Linked DNA regions of Homo sapiens: region 1 is linked to region 2. Evidence: promoter capture Hi-C in human tissues and cell types (Jung and others, 2019). All regions are on one chromosome and are shown on one strand. The core of a region is centred on a gene start or on the middle of the fragment in contact, and the rest is flanking DNA. Distances in the headings are between cores, read along the strand shown. Region 1 has its middle 100 kb from the start of ATF7IP. Region 2 holds the start of CDKN1B (cyclin dependent kinase inhibitor 1B).

Region 1 (3,574 bases), core at 776-3,275, 1.5 Mb before region 2:
CAGCCTGGACAACACAGTGAGACCCTGTCCCTATAATTTTTTTTTTTTTAATTTGCCAGGCATGGTGTTGTGTGCCTGCAGTCCCAGTTACTTGAGAGCCTTAGGTGGGAGGATCCCTTAAACCAGGAGTTTGAGGCTGCTGTAAAGTATGATCACACCACTACACTCCAGCCTGGGTGACAGACTCTGTCTCAAAAATAAATAAATAAATATATCAATAAATAAAAGCATTATTAACTCATTTGTGAATTGAAATTATCATCACCAACCGTACCCTATTTTACAGATGAGAAAACTAAGGCACAAAAAAATTATTTAAAACGTATCTGGTGGCTGGGCACAGTGGCTCACGCCTATAATCTCAGCACTTTGGGAGGGTGGCTAATTTTGTATTTTTGGTAGAGACGGGGTTTCTCCATGTTGGTCAGGCTGGTCTTGAACTTCCGACCTCAGATGATCCGCCAGCCTCGGCCCCACAAAGTGCTGGGATTACAGGCATGAGCCACCACGCCCGGCCACACCAAAGGTTTTTTAAAATCAACAAATTATTTGGAAATTATTTGAATAATTTTTTAAAAATTGCACAAAACTTATATGGTAAGCAGTTTTATACATACACATACATATATAACTGTATATGTAATTGAATAAGCAGTTTTATACATATATAATTTAAATAATTTAGAAATGGAGATTATATTTTTCAAATGTTTACATTTATATATTGATATCTAGGTTAATTTACAATATGTATTGTGGGTTAGATACGTTGATTTCATTCCCTACAGGAAATATCAGCAAACCTCATTCAAACAGACTGAAATGGTAAGGGAAGAAATTTACTTTTTTTCACATAACTAAGTAGTCCAGCGTAGGTTCCAGGCATGGTAAGATCAGTGGCTCAGTGATGTCATCAAAATTCTTTCCATGTCTGTTCTGCTTTCCTCTCTGTTAGGGTTTACCCTTAGGCTAGATCCTCCTGTTACTCAATATGGCAACAGCACTTCCTGCTGTTACATCTGTGGTGGTTTACAATATGTCCACAAATTCCTTAATATTCCTCCTTCCCTGCAAAAGTGCAGCCTAATTCCCCTCCTCCTAAATGTGGGCTAGACTTAATGACTTCCTTTAATGAATAAAATGAAGTCGAAATGATGGTGTGTTGTTCCTAAAATTAGGACATAAAATATAATGGTTTCCTCCTGTTCTTTTTGTTGGGATCACTCTGGGGAAAGCCAGCTACTACGACAGGAGGACATTCAAGTAACCCCATGGAGTGGATCACAGGGTAAGTAACTGTGGTCTTCTACTAAGAGCCAGCAATGAACTGAGAACTTATGCCAACAGCCATATAAGCCATCTTGGAAGTATATTCCCTAACCCCAGTCAAGCCTTCAGATGAATGCAGCCCTGGCAAATGTCTGGAATGGAACCTCATGTGAGAATCTGAGCCAGAACTGTCCAGCTCAGCTGCTCCTGAATTCCTGACTCACAGAACCGTGAGATAATAAAATAATTGTCATAAAAACATCCAGAGGGAGAAAGGCACATCCTTTCTCTCTCTCTCTGAGAAACTGCTGAGACTTCCTGGCAAACTTACTAAACCAGTTAGTGATTAGGAACTAATATTACCATGATTCTTATACTGAACCACCCTGTGGAGCTGGAGCTGGAGTCAGTGTCTTCTGAAGCCTAGGACTGTGTAGAAGACACAGCTTCTGATGGGAAGAAATGAGGGTACAGAAACAGATATCGACAGGTGACTAATCAAGCTAATTTAGGTTGTACTGTATAACAAATATCCACCAATTCTCTCAATGGCTTAACACACCAAAAGTTTGTTTCTTCCTCATACTACATGTCTAATGTGCCTTGGCAAGGAGATCTTGGCTCAAAGAGGTTTCAACTCAACACTTGCTTCCTTGATCTCTCAAACAGTGACAAATTGTTTATTAGATCTGAAAGCTTTTTCCTGGAAGTTACACATATCATATTACCTCCTCTTTTACCTTATTGACAGAAGGTCTAATTTCAAAGAGGTCAGGTCATACAATATTACATTGTGACCAGAAACTGAAATTTTTTTTTTTTTTTTGAGACAAGAGTCTCCGTCTGTCGCTCAGGCTGGAGTGTAGTGGCACGATCTCAGCTCACTACAACCTCTGCCTCCAGGGTTCAAGTGACTCCTGCCTCAGCCTCCTGAGTAGCTGGGACTACAGGCGTGCGCCACCACACCCGACTGATTTTTGTAGTTTTTAGTAGAGATGGGGTTTCACCATATTGGCCAGGCTGGTCTCAAACTCCTGACCTCATGATCCCCCCGCCTCAGCCACCCAAAGTGCTGAGATTACAAGCGTGAGCCACTGTGCCCGGTCCGAAAACTGAAATATTTTAACATCACTGATGAGTACCAGCAAGGGAAAATCAGGGTCTGGATCTGGGTGTGGTGGCTCACGCCTGTCATCCCAGCACATTGAGAGGCTGAAGCAGGTGGATAGCTTGAGCCAGGGCAACATGGCGAGACCCTGTCTCTACCCAAAAAATAGAAAAATTACCCAGGCATGGTGGCACATACCTGTAGTCCCAGCTACTGTGGAGGCTGAGGTGGGAAGATTACTTAAGCCTGAGAGGCAACGGCAGTGAGTTGTGATTACACCACTGCACTCCAGCCTGGGCAACAGAGCCAGATCCTGTCTCAAAAAAAAAGAAAAAAAGAAAAGAAAATCAGGGTCTGGAAAACGTGCTTACTAAGGGACTCGAAATTGGGATGTTACAACAGCAACAAACTTTCTCTACTTCAGCCCCTACAAGTCCCCGTATCTTTTAAGGAATCTCTCTTTCTTCTTTGCCCTTTAAGAGTCAAAGTGGTTAAATAGATTGGATGTTAGGGTATGTGGCACAGGGATAAATCCTAACTTAATTGCTGCTAGATCTTAGCCTAGCATGTGTGAACAGGTCTTAGCAGACTACTTGAAAACTTTAGTGAAAACATTAGTACTGACTCATGATCATGTATCTAATAATTACTCTTCTAATATTAGGTCCAGTAATGTGTAGTTTTGCTAAGAAATCTAAAGTTATAAATAACATGTTGAAATTTTAAAGTGCTTTGGATGTTGAAATCTGCATGTCAATAGCTCACCTTTTCTCAGGGTTTTCGTGCTAGTAGCTTAGTTATTATCCTGATAGGATGTTTGGAAGTTTCTGGGTAAGGAAACAGATCTGTTCTTCTGCTGGGCTAGTCCACCTGTTTCAGGTCCTGAAAAGCTACTGACCTAGTGGACTTCAGACTCCTTGCTTTGTCTTAGCGTTTGAGTTCTTTTAATTCTGGCTGGTAGCTGACCTGTTTGTTAATACATCTGGAATGAAAAGTCTGTTTTTCTAGCCAGGCGCGGTGGCTCACGCCTGTAATCCCAGCGCTTTGGGAGGCCGAGGTGGGCGAATCATGAGGTCAGGAGTTTAAGACCAGCCTGGCCAACATGGTGAAACCCCGTCTCTACTAAAAATACAAAAAATTAGCTGGGCATAGTGGTGAGTGCCTGTAATCCCAGCTACTCGGGAGGCTGAGCAGGAG
Region 2 (3,775 bases), core at 1-2,500:
CCCTAGCCAGGAGGCGGACCGTTGATAAACATCCCAACTTTGTCACATACCTAGGAGTTGCTAGTGAGAGGGACCGCGATGTATTAAGTTAGGGAAATTATCGGATCTTACCATCTCCAGTTTCTGACTTAAAAGTCACAAACAGACAAGCAGTGGGCCAGGTAGCACTGAACACCTAAGACCAATAAAGTTAGCTCTCCCAAAGCTAAATCAGAATACGCCGAAAAGCAAGCTAAGGTTAACACCCTCCAGCAGGCAAAGCGGGGCCCCAAACACATTCTATGGTTGGGAAAGGGTCATTACCGTCGGTTGCAGGTCGCTTCCTTATTCCTGCGCATTGCTCCGCTAACCCCGTCTGGCTGTCCGACGGATCAGTCTTTGGGTCCACCAAATGCGTGTCCTCAGAGTTAGCCGGAGCCCCAATTAAAGGCGCCGCCGGGCGGCTCCCGCTGACATCCTGGCTCTCCTGCGCCGGCACCTTGCAGGCACCTTTGGGGGGCCGCGGGGGTCTGTAGTAGAACTCGGGCAAGCTGCCCTTCTCCACCTCTTGCCACTCGTACTTGCCCTCTAGGGGTTTGTGATTCTGAAAATCGAAATTCCACTTGCGCTGGCTCGCCTCTTCCATGTCTCTGCAGTGCTTCTCCAAGTCCCGGGTTAACTCTTCGTGGTCCACCGGGCCGAAGAGGTTCCTGCAGGCCGAGGGCTTGGGGTGCTCCGCCTGCCTGGCGTCCATCCGCTCCAGGCTAGGGCTCCCGTTAGACACTCGCACGTTTGACATCTTTCTCCCGGGTCTGCACGACCGCCTCTCTCGCACTCTCAAAAAAACAAAACCGAACAAAACAAAGCGCCCCTACGCAGCCCGAACCCCTCTCGGAAGCCCAGCGACTGCCCTCGGAGCCAAAAGACACAGACCCCGACGAGCCACGGCCCGAGCTCTAGGAGCGCGCAGGGGCTGCGGGGAAGCCCCGGCCCGGCCGCCGAGTCTCCGCTGATCAAATGGACTGGCGAGCGGGAGGGCGGAGAGGAGAGGGGACCAGGCAAGCGGAGAGGGTGGCAAAGCCCGTCCGAGTCTGGGCGGGTGCAAGCCCGCGGGTCCCGCGAACCCAGCCGCTCTCCAAACCTTGCCGGCGTCGGAGTCGCAGAGCCGTGAGCAAGCGGGGACAGGGGAGGGGGAGAAAAACACCCCGAAAAGACGAGCCCCCTTTTTTTAGTGGCCCAATATGGCGGTGGAAGGGAGGCTGACGAAGAAGAAAATGATTGACACGGCGAGTCTATTTAAACAGAGGAGGAGATCCATTGGTTGCGGCGGCGGGAGCCGCCCCGCCGAGGCTGGCGAGCGCGGCCTTAAGGTGGCCCCGGCGCGGTTCCGCCACCTCCCCTCGTTCCCGAGCGCGCCGCCTCCCCGAGCGCCGCCGGGAGATTGGCTGGTCGCGTGACTGCTGGAGGGGTACTGCTGCCAACAAACCTGCTCTGGCTGGCCTCGGAGAAATTAAAATTAAGACAAACAAACTAGCCAAACGGCCGGGAACCTGGGGCGGGGCCTGAGGTTCGGGGCCCGGCGCTGCGTTGGCGGGTTCGCCGCGGCGCCTAAGCCCCGACCTCCCTCCCGCTCCTCGCCCGGGAAGCCGGGACCTGGACCAGAGGACCGCGAAGGTCGCCGGCAGCTCGCTAGGAGCCGGGGTGGCGAGCTGCCCCCAGCTCGGCCCTCCCCAGCGGCCCCCACCTCGTGGTCTGCGGGGGAGGCCGCGGAGCGTTTGCTGGGGGGGCTGGGCGCCCCCCCGCCGGCGTGCCTTTGCTGGGGGCTGGTGGAGGCAGTGGGCAATGGTTCGCTCAGCCTTAACCCAGAAGTTTCTGCCATCCCTGGGGAGGCTGGGGGCCTAGGGAAGAAGCCAAAGCGAACGTCTTTCTTTTAGAAATTAGCCAGGAGTAGACGCGGCACTTATCATGAACTCAAGCTCTCCCTCAATGAAAATAAGAAAGGAACTCAAGATTAAAAAAAAAAAACAAAAAACTCTAGTCTCTCAAGTCCCTTAATAAACTTTGTAGCTGTCTCAGACACGTTTAGTTTTGAAAAACGAGGGTACACCCCTGGCCCAGGATCTTCCTTCCCAAGCACAGTTAAGGCCATGGACATTGGCTGCGTGTGGGAACTCGTCCCTTTCTACTTTTCTGTTCTTTCCCGGGATTGTAGCAGTTTCCTCTACCTGAGTCCAGCCGCCAAATACAACAGCTCCTTCCTTCCTCCACCCTTCTCTCTCACCAGATTTCACTGCTCCAACAAACTCAGAACAATATTCAGATGCTAGTGAATGCTTTCAGAGGGCTGAAGGGTGAAAATACTCCCCTCGGGGTCAAACTCCAGATGATGAAATGATTTTTAAAACACCACAACCATGTCCTAACGTCCGATACTAGTATTCCAGCGTTTCTCTTCTCCCTTTTGCAGCTGGAAATTTCTCTCTCAGTGTGGGCTTGAGCACCGTGGTGGAAGGTAAAGTAGGACGATGAGCAGGGCTGCCCTGAGACAAAGCTCAGTGGATCTTCAACTGCCTCCCCACCCCCATGCCCGGTACCCATCATCTTGGTTTGAGCCAAAGTTAATGCATTTTACTGGAAACCAACCTTCCGTTCTAATATTACACAGCAGCAAAGTTTTCTTAAGCACCTATGCTACAGATGAGCTTGATGTGTAGCTTGTTTTCTTAGCCACATCTTGTCCACTTTGTGTGCCTACCTCATCTCATACGCTCCAGAATGTGACAGCTGGAAGGGACCCTCGGGACCCTGTGGTTTAACCCTCTCCTTTTTACCACGGAGGAAATCGAGACTCAGAGAGGTTTCCTGTCCAGGGACATGCATTCGGTTGGTACCGGAGTCAGGACTAGATGCAAGTCTCCTAACACTCAGGTTGGTTCATTTTCTGTTCCTTTCCTTCCTAATGGTTCTCACTGGTTCAGGGTTTTGTCTGAGTTTGATTGTGCTGTAGTCTGCAGGTCCTGCTGTCTTACAAGTGACTGAAAATGGCTCCTTCCCAGGCCCTGGGTTGCCTGCAGATGTTTCCTTGATGTGGCCTGTGGTCACTGATATTTAAATGCAGCTGTCTTGAGCCTGTGGTATCACCATCCACTAGTTCAACTAAAATTGAAGGACAGGGGTTGATACCCAGAGAACAGTAAAGGGGGCAGTGCCCAGAACTAGTTTTCAAGTCAGGACTTCCTACCTAACTGACAGAAAAGAATTCACCTAGGATCAAGCAAGAGGTCTCATCCTCTTTAGTTTTTCTACTTTTAAGGCTGTCAATTTATTGGACTGCAGACTGGGGGAAAAGGAACAGGAAAATTAGGGTAGGCCTCCCTACCATAATTTATACCTTACCCTAGAAATTAGATAATTGTCCAAATTTTAAAACAATTGCTAGACAACACAGGAACTCTATATATGTGCATCTATCCATATGCATAAACACCCAAACTACCACATGTATGTAAATGGAGACATTCTAGAGTAGTTCACCTTGCCACAGAAGTTTGATTTTACTCATGGAATTCATGTCTTATATGGAAGTGGAAAATAAACACTTCGATCCCCTTCACATGCTGAATCTTTCAACTAATATGTAGGAGCACCATTTTGTCGCTTTGTTGTTGTTGATCTCGAAAAGTAAGCAAGTCACAGTCACACCACCTTAAGAAGTCTGGCTGCCAGCAGAAAGGCTGTGCTTACATCGACCTCACAATGATCTAAAGTGTTTTGTTTACAGTCAAGGCACCGGAGA

Evidence for each region. The method cuts DNA at HindIII sites, captures the fragments that hold promoters and counts their contacts. A contact is called where the count stands out against the background at its distance.
Region 1: a fragment that was not itself captured here is called in contact with the fragment with the promoter of CDKN1B in region 2 in 1 of the 25 tissues and cell types used here (psoas muscle).

The regions. Positions count from the first base shown.
Region 1 is chr12:14,262,363-14,265,936 of GRCh38, reverse strand. No RefSeq gene overlaps it. Among named protein-coding and RNA genes, the nearest start is that of ATF7IP, 100 kb to the left of the region's middle. The HindIII fragment of the contact is 3,925 bases long and covers 63-3,574 here.
Region 2 is chr12:12,714,843-12,718,617 of GRCh38, reverse strand. It overlaps CDKN1B (cyclin dependent kinase inhibitor 1B), which reads right to left and starts at 1,250. Exons shown (of 3, transcript NM_004064.5): 1 at 304-1,250. The coding sequence starts at 778. It also overlaps a transcript of GPR19 not described here. RefSeq lists silencers at 684-872, 1,297-1,866 and enhancers at 1,047-1,146, 1,227-1,276, 3,533-3,612, 3,623-3,672. The HindIII fragment of the contact is 13,879 bases long and covers 1-3,775 here.